2 separate regions of the Homo sapiens genome follow, and region 1 is linked to region 2. The links are contacts of gene promoters, found by promoter capture Hi-C in blood cells and fetal thymus (Javierre and others, 2016). All regions are on one chromosome and are shown on one strand. Each heading gives the region's core, a stretch centred on a gene start or on the middle of the fragment in contact. The rest is flanking DNA. Distances are from core to core; before and after follow the strand shown.

What was found. Contacts are between HindIII fragments. The CHiCAGO score rates a contact against its expected background, and 5 or more counts as called.
Region 1: a contact is called between a fragment that was not itself captured here and the fragment with the promoter of ANKRD10 in region 2, in 1 of 17 cell types (neutrophils). The highest score is 5.7, in neutrophils.

What each region holds. Positions count from the first base shown.
Region 1 is chr13:110,214,224-110,221,509 of GRCh38, forward strand. The region is part of intron 2 of COL4A1 (collagen type IV alpha 1 chain); the gene reads right to left. Among named protein-coding and RNA genes, the nearest start is that of LINC03082, 89 kb to the left of the region's middle. The HindIII fragment of the contact is 1,530 bases long and covers 2,283-3,812 here.
Region 2 is chr13:110,913,117-110,920,100 of GRCh38, forward strand. It overlaps ANKRD10 (ankyrin repeat domain 10), which reads right to left and starts at 1,953. Exons shown (of 6, transcript NM_017664.4): 1 at 1,609-1,953. The coding sequence starts at 1,818. RefSeq lists enhancers at 565-1,241, 965-1,094, 2,593-3,267 and silencers at 1,205-1,574, 1,845-2,504, 2,635-2,794. The HindIII fragment of the contact is 15,206 bases long and covers 1-6,984 here.

The DNA of each region.
Region 1 (7,286 bases), core at 1,798-4,297, 700 kb before region 2:
GGGATTACAGGCGTGCGCCACCACGCTGGCTAATTTTTGTATTTTTAGTAGAGGCAGGGTTTCACCATGTTGGCCAGGCTGGTCTCGAACTTCTGATCTCAGGTGATCCACCCACCTCGGCCACCAAAAGTGCTGGGATTACAGGCATGGGCTACCACGCCTGGCCCGTGATGCCTAATTTTAGGTGCCAAGTTGACTGGGTCACAGGATAATCAGAGAGCTGGTAAAGCATGACTTCTGGATGTGTTTTTGAGGGTGTGTTTCTGGAAGAGATGGGCATTTGAATACATGGACAGTAAGGAAGATCTGCCCTCACCCAGGGTGAGCAGGTGTCATTGTTAGTTGAGGCCCGGATAGAACAAAAAGGCAGAAGAGAGGCCAATTCTCTCTCTTCTGGAGCTGGGCACCCATCTTCTCCTGCCCTTGGACATCAGAACTCTGGGTTCTCTGGCCTTCAGATTCAGGGACTTGTACCACTAGCCCCTTGGGCTCTCCAGCCGCTGGCCTTGGACCCAGTTACACTTCAGGAGTCCTGAGTTCCCAGGCTTGCAGGCGGCAGATCATGGAACTCCTCAGCCTCTATAATCCTATGAGCCACTTCCCATAATAAATCTAAGCAGCATCCAGCCTTGCGCAAGTCCACAGTGAGTGTCTGGAAACAGATAGCAACGACTACTTCAGGTGGTTTTGCTCTACTGTGTTTTAAACTCTTGAGGGCAGGAAATATTTATATCTCATTCCTAGCACAATCCTTTATATGTACTTAATGCCAAATAATTTCTTGGGTAAATAGAGTAACAAATAGCGAGGTGTTTTTCACTGAACTGGTTATAATTTCGCTCAATCAATGGAACTCTCTTGTTAGCAACAGCCTCAGTGCTGAGATTCTGTGATGGAGCCTCCAAGACGTCTTCCTCTTTAGAGACCATTAGGAGATGTGGGTGGGCAGAGTCCACAGTGTGCACCTCATGCAAGATGCTTAGCCTCCCTTGGGCCATCATGGGGTGATGGTGGGCTTTAATGAGAAATGTCTTTCAAGAGTATTTTTTGGGCTGGGTGCGGTGGCTCGCTCATGCCTGTAATCCCAGCACTTTGGGAGATAGAGGCGGGCAGATCACCAGAGGTCAGGAGTTCGAGACCAGCCTGGCCAACATGGCAAAACTCTTTCTCTACTAAAAAATGCAAAAATTAGTTGGGTGTAGTGGTGCACGCCTGTAATCTCAGTTACTCAGGAGGCTGAGGCTGGAGAGTCACTTGAACCTGGGAGGCAGAGGTTGCAGAGAGCCAAGATCATGCCACTGCACTCTAGCCTGGGAGACAGAGTGAGACTCTGTCTCAAAAAAAAAAAAAAAACAACAACCCATAACCATTGTAAGAAATCAAGAAAACCTATTTACTTTACAGCATGTGGACTTCAGTGCAGCCTTACCATACGAATTGGGTAGATTCAGTAACCATTGTTAGCTGATTTAAAAACATAAGGCAGACAGTTTGGAGATCACAGGCAGGATTACTTAGTGTTCAGTGCCTTTCTCAAAGTTGCATTAGTTGAAAGTAAAAATCAACCGACAAGCTACACACCACATAACATAAACATCCAAAGTCGTCCTTCTTTCCAAACCACTCAGCCAGTCCTGGCACTTAACTGGTGAATTAACTGCCTGCTCCATTTTTACAAACGCAGGAAGGACGTTATGAACCTGGGACTCAGCCGCCACACCTCCATAGAGCTGTGTTTCGTTGAAAGGATATGTCAGGAGTCTAGACACAGTATGTGGATAAATATGGGAGAGATTGTTTCAAACCCTAAAGAATTGAATCAAACAGTAAATGGATTAAAGAACCTCAAGCCCCATACTGTGGCACTGCCCCTTCAGGCCAGCAGCATCCAGGGAGTCGGCCAGAAGCACAGACGTGACTCCACGAGGGCCCTGATCCCAAGGTTTGACAGGGAAGGCTGGCTCCTTCTCCCTGAGGCCTGTGACAGTGAGGAAGGAAAAACATTCCCAGACCAGGACTTGTTCAAATGAAGAGCTCCTTAAATACACCCTGCAGTGATGGCCCCAGGACACAATGGCAGAAAATCCTGCTGTAAGGAGTTACAGTGCACAAGGTCACCAATCTGGGGCACCCAGTTTTCGGATATAGGAAAAGTCTGCTCAAACCAGAATAGGACTGAACTCCAAACAGCGGCTAAAATAAATAAATAAATATGGACTTGTGTAGCCCCAAGTAACCCAACATCAGACAGGAAGGAAATGAGAAAGGCAGGTCCATGTAGAAGCTTTCTAATACATTTGGTGGAGTATTTTTAGTACTTAATTAATATGGGCAGTATCGCCATGAGACCAGCGATGATAAGATTTTATAATTCTCAATTTAACCATGGAATGCACTGAGGACCAGAGCCAGATTAACTGATTTCTACAAGTTTCTCACTGAGTCAGCACTACAGCCAGAAATAGAAATGAGGTCAGCCTCCACCATAGTCCCTGTTTTTTCTGGGTCACTAGAGCAAGCCGGTTCCCAGCAGAACATCAAACAATTCACCAACTTCATGTCAGCCCAAGGTACCGACCCTTCTATGTCCATTTCACAGATAGGGAAATTAAGATTCCGATGCTTAACTGACTTGTCGTACGTCACTGGGTGACCCCTCGTGCTGCTGGGAACAGAACACAGAAATCCAAATTCCCAGACCTTGCTTTTACCGCAAGAACACATTCTTTCCCAAATGTCACCAGAAAGTTTAAGCAATCTGTGTATCCCCAGAGCTTTGAAATGAAGGAGCTAAGAAGGAAGTGACTCCTCCATGGACATGGTTCTTGCCATTCCCCACATATTTTTTTAACGTTCTTAATCTTTTGTCCAGATAAAAGTGCACACGAATAATCTAATACTCTGTACCCTGTCCAAGGTTATTATGGGAACCAGAGCAGAGCAAACGGACAGAATAAGCACTTAAACAGCTATACAGTTAGCTGGCGACCAGCATGCAGTATGGGGCCAAATTATTCCTCCAAGATTTTAGCACATTTCCACCAGGATTGTAAGAAGAGCAAAGAGCTGGACATGTTGTGCAAAGGTTATTGGAGCTAGCAGGGTCCAAGCCAGACTTTGCAGCTGCAACTGGCAATGCTACTAACGTGACCACAGTGACCCCCCACTTCCACTGGAGCTCAAGGCAGAATGTGCACAGTTAGAGTCAGGGAGCAACAGGACCCTCGATCATCTGTTTCCCATGGTGTGCTCAAGGCAAGGTCCAAAAATCCATGGCGGCCACAGACTTCATGTCAGGCAAAAATGAAAACCACAACCATTGTCTGTCACAGCAAAGACTATTTAAAATGGAAGAAAGAAACGAGAAACTTGAAAAATACTACACAGAAAGTTTTCGTGCAGCTGAACCTTGTGCTCTCATTCCTGAACATCAGTGCAATGCAGAGCACTGATCAAAAAAGGAAAATCATACGCCAAAGCCGGAGATGACTACTGCTGTGTCCCCAAATGATGAAATTCAGAATTTGTGGAGGGAGAACAAAGTGCCATTGTCTATAAAGATGAAAGAATACAACATGGAGAATAATCTTAGCACCAAAATTAGGCATTGTAAATTAGGCATGAAATAGGGTTTCATGCATGGAGCAACTTAAAATTCTTGCTTAATGCATTATCTAAAGCAAGCATATACTTTTTAAAAAATCCTTAAAATGCGTGGATAGAAAGTCATTTTATAATACCCAATTATTTCCCTTCCTCTTCCAATGCTTGTAGAAACAAGTTCATGATTCAGGAAAGCAAATACTCTAATAAGCTTCCGTCATAGCTAAGTCAGAAATTCAAATACAAATCAAATACCCAGGACAGCTGAAGTTAAAATAGCATGAAGCTTCTAAATGTGGGGGGAAAATATAATTACCAACAACAAAAACTGATGTTAACACAAAATATACCTAGAATAAGCAGTCATCAAAATTCTTACTGTCAAAGGCCTGTTTCAGTGGCTGACATGGAATCCATATCTTTAAATCAAAATTTTAATGGATTTTTCCAATCTGAAATATTAGGATCACGGATCTTCACAATGGACTGAAGCACACACAGAGATGCTGCCAGCTCTCGGGGGCTTCCTCTACGCACGGAATGAGTACGGGTACCGGGTTTGGTACTGAGCACTGAGTGTACTGGGTATGGCAGCCTCCATGTGCTGGGTGCATCCAAGGGAAACAAGCAATGCTTATCAGGGAAACTGCAATTCCTTCTCCACCTCAACCCTGTAACTTCTTCACAGGCAATGAAATTGTTTTATTCATTCATGGTGTTTGAATTCAATAAAATGTCATGGGATGCTGAACTAGCCAATTGCATAACATGACGCTCAGCATGAGGTAGGATTCCACATACGAATCCTAAAAACTTTAAGAGGTAGTGAAAGGTTACTGGGCAGGACAGGACCCCCGTCGCCTTTGCAGTCCAAGCATTCTAGGCACCATTCCAGACTGGCTGGAGTCCGCAGCAGTGGCTGAGAGGTGCAGGGCAAGCTGCGTTCGGGACCACGATGGCCCTGCTGCTGCTTTCTGTCATCTAGCGCCTCGAGATTTCCATTTACGAGCAGACTGCAAATCATTCAGGGAATGAAAGCCCTCACATTTGAAGCCAGAGCTCACCAAGTATCCAGTGAAAGGGAAATGATGTCAAGGATGGGTCACAGTCAGTGGGTGACTGCAGAACTCTTTCCGAAATTCCACAAGGCCAACTCCTTGAGCCCAACCACCATCAGAAGAGACATCAGAAGAGACATCTGCAGGACCATTTCCTGAATGCCGCCGCTGGGAAAGGGGTGGGAAAGCTGCGGTGGGTGCCGCGGGGTCATGGAAAACTCTGTGGCGAGGCCCCGCCGGGAGCTCCCTCCACACCATGAGGCTTGACGTCAGGGCAGGAATACTGCCACCACAGTTTGAGGGGGGACAGATGCAAGGAGATCCCCTAGAGGGTCTGCTTTGCCTAAGAGGAAGGCGTGAGTGCTCACTCTCCTTTGCTCTATGAGACATACAACTGAACTCTTAAAAGGATGTATATGTGTTCACTAGAAGTATGTGAATGAAATTTAACAGTGTGGATTGTTGCACTTAGCAGCTACATTTATCATTACTATTATTTCTTGCATTTAAATATTTAACATTAAAGCAGCAAAGATTAAACCAATCATGCATAAAAAGCGTGGCTGCAAATCTGTATCTTCTTCCCGAAATTCTCATTTTCTCCCTCCAGCCCAGACGTCTAGCTTGAGACAGTGAATATCAGGAAATGTGTGCAGTGGCCCTCCATCAACTATGTGGGTATACGCAAGAGCTTGAGCAGCACATACAGACGCACCTCAGCTTATGATGGGGTATGTCCCAATAAGCCCATTGTAAGTTGAAAATATATATATATATGTATATATATATATATGTGTATATATATGTATATATATGTATATACATATGTGTATATATATGTGTGTATATATATGTATATACATATGTGTATATATGCGTATATATGTATATATATGCGTATATATGTGTATATATGTATATATGTGTATATATGTATATATATGTATGTATGTATATATGTGTATATATATGTATATATGTGTGTGTATATATGTATATATATGTGTGTATATATATGTATATATATGTGTGTATATATATGTATGTATATGTGTGTGTATATATACACATACATACATATACATATATATATATATATATTTGAGGCAGGGTCTCACTCTGTCACTGAGGCTGGATTGCAGTGTTACTATCTTGGCTCACTGCAACCTCAGCCTCCGCAGTAGCTGGGATTATAGTAGTGTGCCACCATGCGCCGCTAATTTTTGTATTTTTAGTAGAGACGGGGTTTCGCCATGTTGGCCAGGCTGGTCTTGAACTCCTAACCTCATGTGATTTGTCCGCCTTGTCCTCCTAAAGTGCTGGAATTACAGGCGTGAGCTACTGCACCCAGCCCAATAGAAAATATTTTTAACTCAAAAACACATTTAATACACCTAACCTACCCAACATCATAGCTTAGCCTAGCCATCCTTAAACATGCTCAGAAAACTTAAACACTGGCCTACGTTAGGCAAAATGGTCTAACACAAAGCCTGTTTTATAATAAAGTGTTTAATATCTTGTGTAATTTATCAAATTCTGTATCAAAAGTGAAAACCAGAACGGCTTGTGGCTCCTGACTGGCATTGCAAGAGTTGCCTATCGCACAATGCTAGCCCAGGAAAAGATCAAAATTCAAAGTTTTTATCTTTTGAATTTTGATCTTTCAAAATCCATGACTTTCAGATATCATGAGAGCTGTTCTATTTCTAGGAGACTTCGGGACTTGTCCTGCCTCTTCTAAAGCACGTGGGGTTGTTTGGGCAAGTTCCTCATTTCATGGGCCTCCACCGTCCTCCTTCTGACTATCATTAGCTTGGTTCTGACTACTCCCAAGGCTGCCGATGATGGAGATGAGCAAATCTGTGTGAAGAATGGGAGAGAACTCAGTGCTGGAGTCTCCTGGCCGAAAGAACAGTGGCTGGGGTCTGAGGGGTGGGAGCTGGGCTGGATAAACTAGAAGTGAAAATGCCTTCCTCCGTATGGCCAAGCCTGGACTACAACTTTTATACTGGACTTCTGGCCCCAGGATTCTTGAGTGGAAAATCCCAAGCCCTCACGATAAGGTCCATGTGATGAAGAAGGTCCACCCTGTGCTCAGCGAAAGCCTGCCTGCAGCTATAGCATTTAATGCAGAATTGTCTCCAGGTGTCCATGTTCAAGGAGAGATTTCTATTGGACAAATCCTGATGTTGAAACATTATCTGAGCCCATGATGAATTCTGGCACAATTCTAGGCTCAAGTATTCTAATATGAATTTTAACATTCACTATGAAGTTGACTGACAGAGCTGAACACTCAAGTCATATGTAATCCAAAGCTAGAAGGCGATGGTTACAAAGGAGATGCACAGTGAATATTTCTGATAGATCCACATTTACAAAGAAATAAAACCATAGATATTTTCTGATCCATGAAAATCCACTTTGCACATCAGCTTAAAAGAAAAAAATGAATTAAAAAGAGTCCTTCAGAAAATACTTTCTAAAGAACTATCATTCAACACAAGAATAACTCAAGGGGGCCCTCAGTATGGTCTTCTTATAAACAATTTAAAAGTTCCCCGAAAGCCATCCAAAAGCAAACAAACCATCTGACGTCCCCGATCCAGTAAAAATGTTCTA
Region 2 (6,984 bases), core at 703-3,202:
GTGGAGGCACCACTGGATTAAATTTTCTAAGTGACCATCTGTAATGAGGCTTTAAGCATTCTACAGATCGTTGTTCACTGACTATCACCCAGTATTGTGTCGTTCTCAACCAGGGTAGAAAGGACAGAATCCTAAAGTTTAGTGTAAAAATAAACCACAGCAAGAGACACTCTGGAGGGAGGAAATCCTCAGATTACTGACTGCCTCGGGAAATCTATTTAAGGCTGCACGCAGAAGCGCAGGGAGGAGGCTTTATTACTTTTGTTTGTTAAGAAACTCATTTCCCCTGGGCACCTGTTTTCTCCAGCAGGTACTACGGTTGCACAACTTCAGAGACAGTGCCACAGGAACCTAACAGCCCTTGAGGACTGATTAACTTGCTTGTCCCACCCCGATCGTCAAAACTCCTTTTCATTTCTTTTATTGAAAGAAAAGTGACTTTTCCACTTTAAAAGAATCAGAAACTGCTTTCCAAAAGACACAGCTGCTTTGTGAATGTAGCACCAGGGGCAGCAAGGTAAACCGCAACTTCATCAGCTGGTAACGACATTACCAGGGCCAGGCCTTCTTAAAGTAACTTATTTCACATTACCTCTCACATATTTCTGCAAAACCATTTAACCCCATCTCATCACTTACGAGAAAAACACTATACACATCCCTGAATTTCAGTGAATTAAGAAATATTAATTAAAACCAGTCACTTCTGAAATGCACGGTGAAATCTTATTTAAGATTTCTGAGAGCAAGTACCCCAACGACTTCACAGATGAGGAAACGGTAGCTATCCAACCTTTTAAAACCTTAAAGCAGCACTGTGTTCCCCCAGAATTTTCAGTTTAAGAAAAAAGAGGGGAACGTAAAGCCTCCACGGGAAGAGAATTCTGCTTAATTTAACCACTTCTGCAGTAATTTAGATCCAAGATAAACACAGCCGTCACTAATTTTGCTGAAGCGGGGCCAGCTACAAGCCTTAAAGCAAACCCAGAAGCTGGAGAGCCGGCCTCCATCCCACACAGCTGCCGGGGCCTTCCAGTCCCGCCGGGGCGCTTGCTCCTCGGCTGAGCTCGTCCGCAGCGCGGCCCTCGGCTACTGGCGAGGCTGTGCGGAACCAGAAGGTCGACCGCGCCCGGGCATTCCCCGCGCGCCTCTGACCCCAGCTCGGCTCCCCGGAAGCCGCCTGGGCGACTTCGCGGCCTAATACCCGGCTCTGCGAAATCGCTCGCGCCTCCGGCCCGGCCTGGAGGGCCCCGCACCATCCGCGCGCGCGCGCGCTCGCACAGGATCCGGCCAACAGGCGCCGGGACCCTTGGAGCCCGCCTTGTTAGAAACTTGCTACGCGCGCCGCCGCACATGCGCCCTAGGCCCCTCCGGACGCAGGCGCCACCGACCTCGCTTCCGCCCCGCGCCCCCCGGCTGCCCCGCCGCGACTCCGGGCCGCGAGCGCTGCCGCACAGGCGCCCTAGGCCCCTCGGGGCACAGGCGCCGTCGATCCCGCTTCCGCCCCGCGATCCCGGCACGCCCCACGTCCCCCGCACCTCAGACCCGCTTTCCCCGACTCCCACTGGACAGCCGGGGAAAATGGCGCCTTAAAGCGTTCGCACCCACCTTGCCGAAATGCGCGGCCCAGTGCACGGGCGTCCAGCCATAGAAGGAGTCCTCAGAGGCCAGGTGGGCGTGGGGTGTCTGCTGCAGCAGCGAGCAGAGCGTGGCCAGGTCCCCGTCGCGGCAGGCGCGGTGCAGCGGGAAACGGAGCGAGAGCAGCTCCTCGCTGGAGAAGCCCGCCTCTACGCCCGCGCCCGCTCCCGCCGCCGACATGGTCCGTCACCGGAGAGCGCGGGGCTCGCTGGCCTAGAGGACGCGTCGGGGAGGACTCGAGAAGCCGCCGCCGCAGCACAAAGGAACGAGACTAGCGCCGCGGTCGCGTCCCACAGGCTGCCGAGCGGAGCGCGCACAGAGGGGGCGGGGCGGGGCCTGGAGCGGCCGGGCTGGGGGCGGGGCCTGGCCCAGAGGACGCCTTGTGCAGCCGGGCAGGGGTCGGGGCCTGGAGCCGCGGACCTCTGGAGCCGCCGGGCAGGGGGCGGGGCTTGAGCCGGAGGCCGCCTGGAGCAGCCGGGCGGAGGGCGGGGCTTGGAGCTGCGGACGCCTGGAGCGGCCGGTAGGTGGCGGGGTCTAGCCTAGAGGATGCCTGGAGCAGCCGGGTAGGGAGCGGAGCCTGGACCAGAGGACGCCAGCAGCAGCCGATTAGGAGGCGGGGCATGGGGCTGTCGACGTCTGGAGCAGCCGGGCATTGGGCTTGGGCTAGAGGACGCCTGGGGCGGTGGGCGCCTGGAGTAGCCAGGCAGAGGGCGGGGCCTGGCTTGGGTCCACGCCTGGGGCGGCCGGGGGCGGGGCCTGGCTGGAATTGACGCGTGGAGCTCCGGTGGAGGGGGCGGGGCCTGGCTGGGCCGCTGCCTACAGCGGCTTCCGGGGCTTGGAGGTCACGGGGCTCGGAGGTCACGGGGCTCGGAGGTCACGGGGCTGGCTGTGTGGGGGGCTCAGGGGCGTAGAGTGGCCAAGCAGCGGTCTGAGCGGGTCCCGGGGCCTCCGGCGCGGTGGGTCTCGGCTGCGCCCCGGGTGCGGACCATGATGTTTCCAGCCTGGGAGCCGGTCCGGGCGGGGAATCCCGGCTGCCGGGGGCGCGGGTTGAGGCTCTGCGGGCCCGCGCCCAGAGCGGGTGGGAGTCACGGGTCTCCCGGAGGCCCAGTAGCGCGCGGTGAAGTTGTCCAGTAAAAATTTATGGAGCGCCTACGGGGAGCAGGGATTCTCGTTAAAATCTGGGAATCAGCAAGCCCTAGTTCCTTACAGAGCAGGACAGATTCCTCGGTTTTGTCCGAGGGACGCCTTCTTCGGAACCGAGTGCGGTGGGCTAGGACTATACGTTTGCAAGTTTAAGAGATAAGCGAGAAGACCAGACAGAGCAAACAATAAAAGGCTTTTTGTTGAGAACTGTATAAATGTAAGGGAGTACCAAATCCCCTATTTTGAATGACAGTATCACGGACTTTATTACATATGTAATTTTATTCTGATTATGAAAGCATCAGTAATTTCACTATTGAGGAATAACCACAATGTTTATGAATATTTCCTTTGCTTCTAAATATGCGGTCTTTTTAAATCATGTATTTTATTTCATTTGTATATATAGTTTTTCGCTGTGTAAACTTCCTTTTTGCAAAATTCTACGTCACAAATTGAACAAGGCAATTAGATGTCTAGGGAAGTACTGATGCACGAGAAAGCATATTGCAGCATTGGTTAATAAAACGAAAAAATAGAAACCTAAGATTTAACAAAGGGAAGTTGTTAACTAGTGGTGTAAACACTCAACACAGACATGTCTTCATACAGCAAACATTTGTTGAGTACAATGCTGAATGAAACACATTGAGAAACACTCTATAGTGGGGAAGTAGCAAATATTTCAATTCAGTGAGCAATTGCTAATGAATGGAAAATATGACACATAGAATCTATCTTCTCCCAGGGAGTTTGTAATCTGTTAGTGAAGCAGGAAAGAATAATCAAGCAATACTTTTTTGTTTGGACCAAAAGGGTGAGAATAGACTATAAACTCATTTCAGGTTTTGTTTACTCTAGAACGTAATCATTTTTCTTCTCACATGCCATGTTGATTTTAATCTAATCTCTTTAAAATATATCCCCCTGATTTCCATCTTTCTTAGGAGAGAGGTGTCCCATTTTGCGAAAGGACGTGAGTGTATCTTGTCCTCCATGTAATGAAAGGGAGGGATTACTTGCTAGGCTGCATTCTGGGAATGGTGAAACAGAGATGGTGGTAAGTCAAGGAATTTGTCCAAGGGCAAACTGCATGCCTGTGGCAGAGCTTAGAATAATATCCAGACCTAGGTTCCAACCCACTGTTAGATTTTTTTTAACTTTGGAATTTATTTTGCATAGAGTATTAAGGGCTAGGAAGATAAAATAGGTTATAGTGATAGGGTACTTCGTGTACGTCTTTCCTCACTTCAGATGACTGGGTTTTTTAAAGGATTATTTAGACTATATACATATTTATTTAGCTGTACAGGAGTAGACTGACATATATACGTGGTGATGGATCCCCAAGACAGATCCTGTAACTGTGGCAGGAGGATTGTGGATAGGATGGTGTCTACTGACTATTCCCAATGCCAGTGATCTAATTGGTTGGTCACCCAGATTTTGCTCAACTCTGATAATTGTCAGATGCATTCCAACTAGAACTACTCCATCTTAAATGGGGCTGGGTAAGATGAGGCTGAGACCTATTGGGCTGCATTCCCAGATAGTTAAGGCATTCTAAGTCACAGGATGAGATAGGAGGTCAGCACAAGATACAGGTCATGAAGACCTTGCTGATAAACAGGTTGCAGTAAAGAAGCCAGCTAAAACCCACCAAAACCAAGATGGTGACGAGAGTGACCTCTGGTCATCCTCACTGCTACACTCCCACCAGCGCCATGACAGTTTATAAATGCCATGGCAACATCAGGAAGTTACCCTATGTGGTCTAAAAATGGTAGACATGAATAATCCACCCCTTGTTTAGCATATAATCAAGAAATAACCATAAAAATGGGCAACCAGCAGCCCTCGGGGCTGCTCTGCCTAAGGAGTAGCCATTGTTTTATTCCTTTACTTTCCTAATAAACTTGCTTTCACTTTACTCTGTGGCCTCACCCTCAATTCTTTCTTGAGTGAGATCCAAGAACCCTGCCTCTCCTGTGGTCTGGATTGGGACCCCTTTCCTGTAACAATCATTACCAATCTCAGATTTCCTTTGAGACTCTCATTTTTTAAAAGCTCCAAAGAGAAGAAGAGTAGATTCATAACATCTTTTTCATCTGATGAAGCAACCATACACAAGCCAACTTAGGCATTTGAAGATACAATCCAAATCCATGAAAGAAAACAGGAAAACTCAAAACTTAACATATTAAGATTGCCTTTAGACTGGAATTTTTTTTTTTTTCAAAAAAGGATTGCATTGTATGAGAAATTGTGGAAGTGGGGTAGGGCTCAGTTGTGTGAATGGCACAGTGATTCAGTGTCCATACGTGTGACAGACATTGATGGGCATCTCTTGAGTGTCGTTATTACACCAGGAGCAGTGCGCCCTGAGGGACGTGGGGTTGGAGAGCAAGGTAGGCCCCAGTTGATGTTCCATATTAAGCATGCCATGCTAAGGAGTGGCTTTTTACTTTCAAAAAGTTTGGGAACCAATGAGGGGTTTTGTTGTGCCATTTAAGGGAGGGAGTGATGACTTGGGATGGAGGGGTGGGGGGACCCGGGTCAGACTTGCAGCTTGGCTATGAGGATGGAGATCAGGGAGCCCACTGTGACAACACCTTCAGGACTCAACGTGGGCCTGCAAGCCTTGCTGTTTTCTCCTCGGCCCCTTCTCCATTCCTATCCACATCCACTACGCTGGCAAATCCATCTTTTGAGAGGGCAAATCTGCTTAAAAATTGATGTAGGAACAGTTTCCAAAACTTGTCATTCAGATACCACCTGCATGTGGATTTTTTTTTTTTTAGACAGGATCTCACTCTTGTCACCCAGGCTGGAGTACAGTGGTACAGTCATGGCTCACTGCACCCTTGACCTCCTGGGCTCAAGGGATCCTCCTGCTTTGGCCTCCGAAAGCCCAAAGCACTGGGATTACAGGTGTGAGCCATGGCTCCTGGCCATATGTGGACTTTTATATCTACATAGGATTGATATTTTTTTCTTAAAACTGGTTCACTTTTTTAAACTTAGCCACTTCATTCACATCCTCTCATTAATAAACCATTAGTGAGTTTGTGGTGCTGGTTACATTCTCTCCCTACCCATTTAAACAAATAGATATCAAAATAGAGTTTGATCTATAAACCTTCCAAATTGGCTCCTGCCATTCGAGGTTTTCAGACCACACCTGGGAAAATGCTCCCAGCAAGCAAAGTCCAAGATCAGACCCTTGGCTGGGTAATGTCCTTACAGCCAGGGCCGACTGCCTGTCTTTGGACTTCTTGTTATGTCACTGCCCAGGGCTGTCCAGAGCATGTCCTTGACACTGGGGCTACCTCTGCCTTGAAGGCTGCTCCCTGCCCTGTCCCAGAGTCCACTCCTTCTGATCTGGGTTGAATTGTGTCCCCCCCAAATTCATGTGAAGTCCTAACCCCCAGAACTAAGAATGTGGCCTTATTTGGAAATAGGGTCATTGCAGATATAACTAGTTGACATGAGGTCACACTGAAGTAGGGTGGGCCCCCAATCCCATATAACTGGTGTCCTTATAAAAAGGCGACATTTGTCATGCCTGTAATCCCAGCACTTTGGGAGGCCGAGGTGGGCATATCACCTGAGGTCGCGAGTTTGAGACCAGCCTGACCAGCATGGAGAAACCCCGTCTCTACTGAAAAAAAAAAAAAAATACAAAATTAGCCTGGTGTGCTGGCACATGCCTGTAATCCCAGGTACTCGGAAGGCTGGGGCAGGAGAATTGTTTGAACCCGGGAGGCAGAGGTTGCGGTGAGCTGAGATCGCACCACTGCACTCCAGCCTGGGCCACAAGAACAAAACTCTGTCTCAAAAAAAATAAAAAATAAAAATAAAGGGACAGTTGAACACAGACACAGGGGAAGACGACCACGTGAAGATGGAGGCAGAGATGGGGGTGATGCTTCTACAAGCCAAGGAATCCCAAAGACGACGGCAAATCACGAGAAGCCATGGAGAGGCCTGGAGCAGATCCTTCTCTCACAGCCCTGACACCTCCATCTGGGCCTTCCAGCCTGCGGGACTGCAGGACAACACATTTCTGTTGTGAAGCTGTCCAGCTCCAGGAAATAACACACTGGTCCTTGCTGGGTTCCACCTCTCTCGCCCGAGGTGGGGAGGCACCAGCCACCCCCTGGATGCCTCTGTGCACTGGCTTCTCCAGTGCTGTTCACTTCC